Linked DNA regions of Homo sapiens: regions 1 and 2 are each linked to region 3. The links are contacts of gene promoters, found by promoter capture Hi-C in human tissues and cell types (Jung and others, 2019). All regions are on one chromosome and are shown on one strand. The core of a region is centred on a gene start or on the middle of the fragment in contact, and the rest is flanking DNA. Distances in the headings are between cores, read along the strand shown.

What was found. Contacts are between HindIII fragments. The study calls those that stand out against the background at their distance.
Region 1: a contact is called between a fragment that was not itself captured here and the fragment with the promoter of ZNF141 in region 3, in 1 of the 25 tissues and cell types used here (dorsolateral prefrontal cortex).
Region 2: a contact is called between a fragment that was not itself captured here and the fragment with the promoter of ZNF141 in region 3, in 1 of the 25 tissues and cell types used here (dorsolateral prefrontal cortex).

Annotation. Positions count from the first base shown.
Region 1 is chr4:33,283-35,982 of GRCh38, forward strand. No RefSeq gene overlaps it. Among named protein-coding and RNA genes, the nearest start is that of ZNF595, 19 kb to the right of the region's middle. The HindIII fragment of the contact is 4,755 bases long and covers 1-2,700 here.
Region 2 is chr4:602,207-604,906 of GRCh38, forward strand. The region is part of intron 1 of LOC124900162 (a long non-coding RNA gene); the gene reads left to right. Among named protein-coding and RNA genes, the nearest start is that of PDE6B, 22 kb to the right of the region's middle. The HindIII fragment of the contact is 9,672 bases long and covers 1-2,700 here.
Region 3 is chr4:336,506-339,205 of GRCh38, forward strand. ZNF141 (zinc finger protein 141) reads left to right here and starts at 1,309. Exons shown (of 4, transcript NM_003441.4): 1 at 1,309-1,481. The coding sequence starts at 1,479. RefSeq lists silencers at 19-78, 309-418 and enhancers at 433-948, 1,054-2,014, 1,059-1,158. The HindIII fragment of the contact is 20,671 bases long and covers 1-2,700 here.

The DNA of each region.
Region 1 (2,700 bases), core at 21-2,520, 300 kb before region 3:
ATGTTTATATGCTTATTCCAAATATAGTGCTAAGATTAGCATTAGAGACAGCAAAATATTTACAGGTTTTGAAACTAGAAGGAGCCAAACAAATCCATGATCCAGCTCTGCATACTCTCACCCAGCCTTAGTTCTCTCACACAGAAAGTGAAGACAGTGCTATTTGCCTTGTGGCATTGCTGTGAACTTAAAGAAGGCACCGATTGTACACACAGCAGTGCGCAGACCGTGGAAGGCTGGGCTCCGACCAACTCTAAGGACAATCACCATCGGATGCCCCACGATCCTACTCTCAGGATGCCCATATGCCATATGCCATGTGAGTGTCACTCAGTGAACACATATTTGTTGATTATAAATTACTCCCATGCTGTTTTCTTTGTTTTACATGTTCACAAATCTGTAAAAACAAAGTTAGAATTATGAAATTAAAAGTTAACTAAAGGAGGAGATTTTCATTATCTCTGAAATGTAACCCCCCAAATCCAGATTATAAAGCAAGGAAATGTCTTATGGCCCAACACTTGCCATCAATACTTTTTTTATGTTAGTGGGCAGGGGAGGGTAGTGAAAATGAAGGAATCAGAGCTCCGATGGGTGCACATTGTCTTCCCTACAAATCCATTGCTTGTCCAGCCTTCCTTCCTCATTGGGGCTGCTCTATCCTTTTCCACACATTTGAACTGCTCCCCTGTAGGCCTTTCTCATTTGCTTTACTTCCTAGTCTGAATTCCATGGGACCCACATTTAAGGAGAGGGGAACAACTCTGGGACTGGAGGAAGTTCACCTTATGAGTTATACCTGCCTCCTTCCTCTACAGTGAACGGTCTCTGGTGTCCCTGGGTGTTCAGTTTCTTTCCACTCATGTGTTACTGACTGTTCAGGTGGCAAATGGCCCATGACCTTTATGGGATTAAAAAGAAAAAAAATAAAAAGCTGTGTTTCTTTTTTTTTAACTTTTATTTTAGGTTAGGGGGTACACGGGAGGGTTTGTTATACAGTTAAATACGTGTCACAGGGGTTTGTTGTACCTGTTATTTCATCATCCAGGTATTAGGCCCAGTATCCAATAGTTATCTTTTCTGCTCCTCTCCCTCCTCCCACCCTCCCCCCATCAAGTAGACCCCAGTGTCTTTTGTTTCCTTCTTTGTGTTCACAAGTTCTTATCATTTAGCTCCCACTTATAAGTTAGAACATGCTGTATTTGGTTTTCTGTTCCTGCGTTAGTTTGCTAAGGATAATACCCTTCAGCTTCATCCATACTAATGCAAAAGACATAATCTCATTCTTTTTTATGGCTGCATATTATTCCATGGTGTATATGTAGCACATTTTCTTTATCCAATCCGTGACTGATGAGTATTTGGGTTGATTCTATGTCTTTGCTATTGTGAATAGTGCTGCAATGAACATTTGCATGCATGTAACTTCATGGTAGAATGATTTATATTCATCTGGGTATATAACCAGTAATGGGATTGCTAGGTCAAATGTTGTAGTTCTGCTTTTAGCTCTTTGAGGAATCACCATACTGCTTTCCACCACAGTTGAATTAACTTACACTCCCACCAATGGTGTATACATGTTCACTTTTCCCTGCAACCTTGCCAACTTCTGTTAGTTTTTTAGTTTTTAGTAATAGCCATTCTGACTGGTGTGAGATGGTGCCTCACTGTGGTTTTGATGAGCATTTCTCTAGTGATCAGTGATCTAGAGCTTTTTTCCATATGCTTGTTTGCCACGTTTGCTTTTTTTTTTTTTTTTTTTTTTCTTAGCCCGAGTCTCGCTCTGTCACCCAGGCCAGAGTGCAGTGGTGCGATCTCAGCTAACTGCAAGCTCTGCCTCCTGGGTTCACGCCATTCTCCTGCCTCAGCCTCCCAAGTAGCTGGGACTACAGGTGCCTGCCACCACACCCGGCTAATTTTTTGTATTTTTAGTAGAGACGGGGTTTCACCATGTTAGTCAGGATGGTCTCAATCTCCTGACGTTGTGATCCACCCTCCTTGGCCTCCCAAAATGCAGGAATTACAGGCGTGAGCCACCACGCCCGGCACACATGTTTGTCTCCTTTGGAGAAGTGTCTCTTTATGTCCTTGGCCCACTTTTTAATGGGGTTGTTTTTCTCTTGTAAATTTGTTTAAGTTCCTTATAGATGCTGGATATTAGACCTTTGTCAGATGCATAGTTTGTAAATACTTTCTCCCAATCTGCAAGTTGCCTGTTTACTTTGTTGATAGTTTCTTTTGCTGTGTAGAAGCTCTTTAGTTTAACTAGATCCCACGTCAATTTTTGCTTTCATTGCTATTGCTTTTGTTGTCTTTGTCATGAAATCTTTGCCTGTTCTTATGTCCAGGATGGTATTGCCTAGGTTGTCTTCCAGGGTTTTTATATTTTTGGGTTTTACACTTAAGTCTTTAATCCATCCTGAGTTCATTTTTGTGTATGGTGTAAGAAAGGGGCCCAGTTCAATCTTCAGCATGTGGCTAGCCAGTTATCCCAGCACCATTTATTGAACGGAGTCTTTTCCCCATTGCTTGTTTGTCAGAAAAGCTATTCCTAAGGCTTTGCCCAACATACCTTTAACTTTTGACCATATCTTTCCCCTGGTCAATAGGCTCCAGGAAATGGGACAGGATGCTTGGAAATAAAGAGCTAACCCTGAGACAATGCAGGTGAACACAGACTAGCTGCTGCATAAT
Region 2 (2,700 bases), core at 89-2,588, 270 kb after region 3:
CGAGGATCCCACTAGGCTTCAAGAACACGTGGCCTCTCTCAAATTCAAGGCGCCAAAGTGGGGGCAGACTGAAGGGACGTGAGGGAGCCCCACAGGACAGACGGGGGCAAGCGGCCCGGCCACTGGGGCTGCCTCTGCCCAGTCACCTCCCTCCTCCGGCCTTCGTTCTGCTCCTTTCTACCCAAGGTCGGCCACTCCCCTGCCCTATAAAAACCCACCCATGTCCCCGTCAAGGGCAGCAGGCACCCCAGGCTGCTAAGACGTGCACTCTGAGCGCCTTCCCAGCCCAGGGACTGTCCCCAAGGTCCAGCTGCCCAGGGGCCCTGAGCAGCCACTCCCACTTCTTGTCATCACAACCGCTTAAGGACCTGCAGATGAGGGCATCCTATCCCACCCCAGCCCTGGGGGCCATGTTCAGGCCAGGAGAAGCCACCAAACACTGCCACCATCTTCCTGGCTCCAGAGGCTCTGTGCCAACACCAGGCCCCCTTGGGCCCACCTAGCCCACAGACCTTGGAGGCAGGTGCACGAGCAGGTGCATCCATCCCATGGACTCTGATGGGCTGTCAGGAAGGACGCAGGTAGAGCCCAGGTCCTGCCCAGCAGGTGCAGTTCCAAGGCTGCCTCTGGGTGGCGTGCTTGGACCAGTCAGGTGCCCTGTGTTCACCTAACACCGCAGAACCGGCTTCCAGCTGCCAGGGCGATGCAAGCCTGTAGAAGCACAGATGCGGTCATTCCTCAGCCCTACCCAGGCCTTGAGAGTGGAGGGTCAGGGGCCTCTGCACAAAGGCTTTGATCCCCCAAATACACACAGACCCCCACTTTCCTTGTTAGTTTTCTAACACTTCCATAGCAAGCTACCACAGACTAGGTAGCTTCAGCAGCAGAAATGTGTCCTCTGACCATTCTGAAGGCTGAGAGTCTGGGATGAAGACGTTGACGGGTGTGGTCTCCGCAGAAGTCTCTCTCCTTGGTCTGCAGACAGCTGCTCTCTTGCTGCCTCTTCACATGGTCTTCCCTCCACGCGGGCTCACCCAGGGGACTCTGTGTGACCTGGTCTCCTCGTCTTATAGGAATGCCAGCCATGTTGAATTAGAGCCCCACATTCATGCCTCATTTCTACTTAATCACCTCTTTATTTTTAAAATTTATTTATTTATTTATTTTATTTTTTTTGAGACTGAGTCTCATTCTGTTGCCCAGGCTGCAGTGCAGTGGCATGATCTCAGCTCACTGCAACCTCCACCTTCCGGGTTCAAGCGATTCTTCTGCCTCAGCCTCCCGAGTAGCTGGGATTACAGGTGCACGCTATCACGCCCAACTGATTTTTTGTATTTTAGTAGAGACAGGGTTTCACCATGTTGGCTGGTCTTGAACTCCTGAGCTCAGGCAATCCGCCTGCCTCGGCCTCCCAAAGTGCTGGGATTACAGGCGCGAGCCACCGTACCCGGCCTCCCAAAGTGCTGCGATTACAGGTGCGGGCCACCGTACCCGGCCTAAATTACCTCTTTAAAGGTCTTACCTTCAAATAACGATCACGTCATGAGGTACTGGGGGCTGGGATTTCAACATATGAATTTTGTGGGACACAATTTCAATCCATAACACTGACGTAAGGTTCTTGCACTGTATGTGAAGTGGTATAATATGTAAATGTGACAATTCGTAGAGAAAGAAATGTCTTTTCAACCAGTGATGCTGGAACTATTGAATATGCATGTGCAAAAAGAAAAAGAGAGCCTCGATCTATACCCGGACCACATATAAAAATAACTCAAAATGTACTGCAGACGTAAATGTCACACCTAAGACTACACAGTTGCTAGAAGTAAACCTAAGCGAACATTTCTGTGATCTTGAGTGGACAAAGATTTTTTAGCTGTGATTTCAAAAGCATCATCTATAAAAACAATAAACCAGCCTTCATCAGCATTAAAAGCATCTGCTCTTGGGAAGACACTGTTAACAGAATAAAAAGGCAATTCATAGACTGGAAGAAAGTATTTTAAAATCACATATCTGATAAAGGATTTATGTCTGGAATATATAAAGAACAAAATGCATTACAGCACCCCCCACCACACGCTTGTCTGTGGTTCCACTTTGTGTGGTTTCAGTTACCAGCAGTAAACTGTGGTCGGAAAATATTACATGCAACAAGATATTTTGAGAGAGAGAGACAGAGCCCACATTCACGTAACTTTTATTACAGTTTACTGTTATAATTGTTCTATTTTATTATTATTTTTAGTCTCTTATTTTGCCTAGTTTGTACATTAAACTTTATCATAGGTATATATTTATAGGAAAAAATGTAGTATGTATAAAGTTCAGAGTTCAGTACTATCCATGGTTTCAAGCATTCATTGGGGGGTCTTGGAATGTATACCCAGCAGATAAGGAGAAACTGCTGTCATAAGTAAACAAACAATCCAATTTGTTTTGAGGTTTGGGTTTTTTTGTTTAGAGACAGGGTATCATTCTCTTGCCAAGGCTGGAGTGCAGTGACACCACCATAGCCCAGTGAAGCCGTAACATTCCAGGCTCAAGCAATTCACCCACTTCTGCTTCCCAAGTAGCTGGAACTACAGGTGTACACCATCGCACCCAGCTAATTTTTTTTTTTTTTTGCAGAGATGGGGTCTCACTATGTTGCCCAAGCTGGTCTCAAACTCCTGGGTTCAAATGATCCACCCTCCT
Region 3 (2,700 bases), core at 59-2,558:
CGCCAGCTGCCCGCGCCCGGAGCGGATGGGCCTGGCCCGGCTCCACCCCGCGGGGCTCCGCGGCTCAACGGGTCGCCCAGGGGCGCGGGCCCGGCTTCGTCCTCGACGGTGTCCGCCCCGGCCCTGGCTAGGCCGACGGCAGCCGGGTCCGGGTGGGGCTCGGGCTCGGGGCGCGCCCCTCCCATCTCTCCAGGGTCCGCGTCCTCGCTGCCGCCAGGTCCCGCCGAGATCCCCGGTGGCCCCGGCTCCAGCGGCTGCAGCGTCGCCATCGCCGGGCAGACCCCGGCCGACCTCAAAGCGACCGCGCGGTGGGGCCGGCGGGGACTGGGGCTGCGCAGCGCGGCCTGGGGTGGGGGCGGCGGGGCCCCCAGGAGCTCCTGGGAACCGAGGGTCCTGGGGCGGTCCCGCCCCGCACAGCTCCGGGTGAGCTTGGGGAGGGAGACACACTCTCAGCCCACCTCGCCCCGCCCGACAGCGCTCCGAGTCCTGAGTCCCCTCACCCCCATTCTACAGACACGAAGGTGAAGCCAAAGACGGGACGCTCACTTCCTGAGAATTTGCTGCCTGCTGCGTGGACACCACCGACCTATTGTTTACAGCGGTCAGGGACCCGCCCCCCAGACCCCCAGGACCGCGCTTCCGGGGGAGGAGGGTGTCCTCAGCAACGGTGACCCGCACCAAAGCCCTCCTCACCGGGGTCACCGCCACAGCCGGTGCGAGGCCCGCAGGGCGCTGGGGATGCGCGACCGACTCCCGTGAACCTGCTCCTCGCGCGTCAGGGAGAGCTGTGCACCCAACTAGGCTCTGTGAGGACGGACTGAGGTCGGCCTGCAGGCTGCGGCCCCGAAGGCAGGATTTGTGGAGAGATGATTCGCGAGCCTTGGAGGAAGGATGGGCTGTGCGTGCGTGGGTGCGTGCGTGTGTGTGTGTGTGTGTCTGTGACTTTTGTATGTTTATGTGAGACTGCGTACGTGCGCGCGTCTGTGTGTGCGCGCGCGCGTATATGTCTGTGTGTGTGCGTGCGTGTATAATTTCTAAATGGACGTCACCTTACACATCACAAGGTTAAAAAATGACCCCTGGGCTGTGCCAGGCCAAGCACGAAGAGAAAGCCCCGCCTGAAACTGCCTGGAGGCCCCCCGGCTGTCACTCTCGCCACATTCCGTGGAGTATGTGGTTGCAACTTCTGTCACTCAAGGTCTGATGGCGGGGAGATTGGAGCCGTATCCAATCAGCGCACTGGAGTGAAAACTGCCCAATCAGGCACGCAGCCAGAGAGGAGGCGGTGGCTTCCGGGATGTGGCGCGGGTCTTTGCGTCTGGCTACTACCAGACCGCGGGTTAGGGGCTTCATCTCTCTGCGTTCTCAGTTGTGGGAGGCCTTGGTGATTCGGCCACAGCTCAGCCTCCGTCGCTCTGTGACCTGCGGGTATTGGATGATTGGTAGCTAAGACTCCCGAATACTTCAGAAGTGGGGAAATGGTGAGTGTGCGGGGCAGGGCGTCCCAAGGCTGAGGAGGTCTCATCGGAGCTGGCGGGAAATGGCGGCGGGACCGAGTCTGCGAACGGAGTCCCCGCTGCCGCCGCTCAGCCCTGGGGCCTCAGTACCCTCCGGTGAGGGACCTGGGCTCCTGTCGGTCCCCGCACAGCGGCTCTGGCCCAGCCTGCAGCCCTCCTTGTGCAGCTCTGCGCCCGCAGCCCCGCACCTTCCCCAGGCTGTGGGGTGAGGAGTAGCTTATCTGGAAGCCGCCCGCGCGGCGTGCGCGATGCCGGCGTGGGAGGAGCTGTGGGAGAAGCTGTGGTCTGGGGATCCCGTCCCTGCTTTACCCTGTTCGGAATGAGATCGAGGCCCCATCAAAACAGAGTTCATGTGAGCAAATGGGGACTCATTAATGGGACAGCGCCGGCCGTGGCTCGTGGTTTGGGGGCTGCCAGCGGGTCTTGAAGGAAAAGCTTTTGTGAGGTGTGTGAGGAAGCGAAGCAAATCACCCGCCCGCTCCAACTTGCCCACCAGTCTCCTTGCCCTGTGCGCCTCCTCCGCGTGGCTGTTCCTGAGTGGCATCTTTTAGAATACGCTAGTGTGGGCGCGCACAGCGCTTCGCTGAGTTCTGTGAGTAGTTCTGTCATATTATTGAACTTGAGGAGGGTGTGGGCCCCTGGTTTGTAGACAGGTGTTCAGAAATGAAGACGGGTGTCCAGAGGCAGGGACTGGCGTCTGCAGGGGGGCAGCTGCGGGAAGAGCGCTGAGCTTGTGGGGTCTGTGCTGACTCCGGGTGGTGTCGTTAGTGAGTTGTTGGACAGCCCGTTGGGGTCGGAGCATTGACTGGTGTTGAGCAAACTCCTCACGTTTCCTGTCAGAAGAAAGACATGGCTGAGCCTGGGCTGGAGGGAGTCGCAGGTGTCCGCGGGAGACCAGCCGGGTTCTGCACATGCACTGTCCTGCTGCGCACTGTTCTGTTCCTCCAGGTCTCCTCCCGGGGAGAGAGGGCGCTGAGAACTTGGAGGAAAGGAGTTCTGAGAAACATCCCTTCCCTGCACCCTGCTGCCAGCCCCCACCCAATGCTAACCCACTCCTGAGCCCGCCCATTGGGCATTCGCACGGCCACACTTGTCCCAGGACAGGGTTCTACCCTCAGGAATTGTGCCCATGGCAGCTTTGCTCCTAGGTTTTTCTCCCAAGAACACACACAGTGCCCAGAAG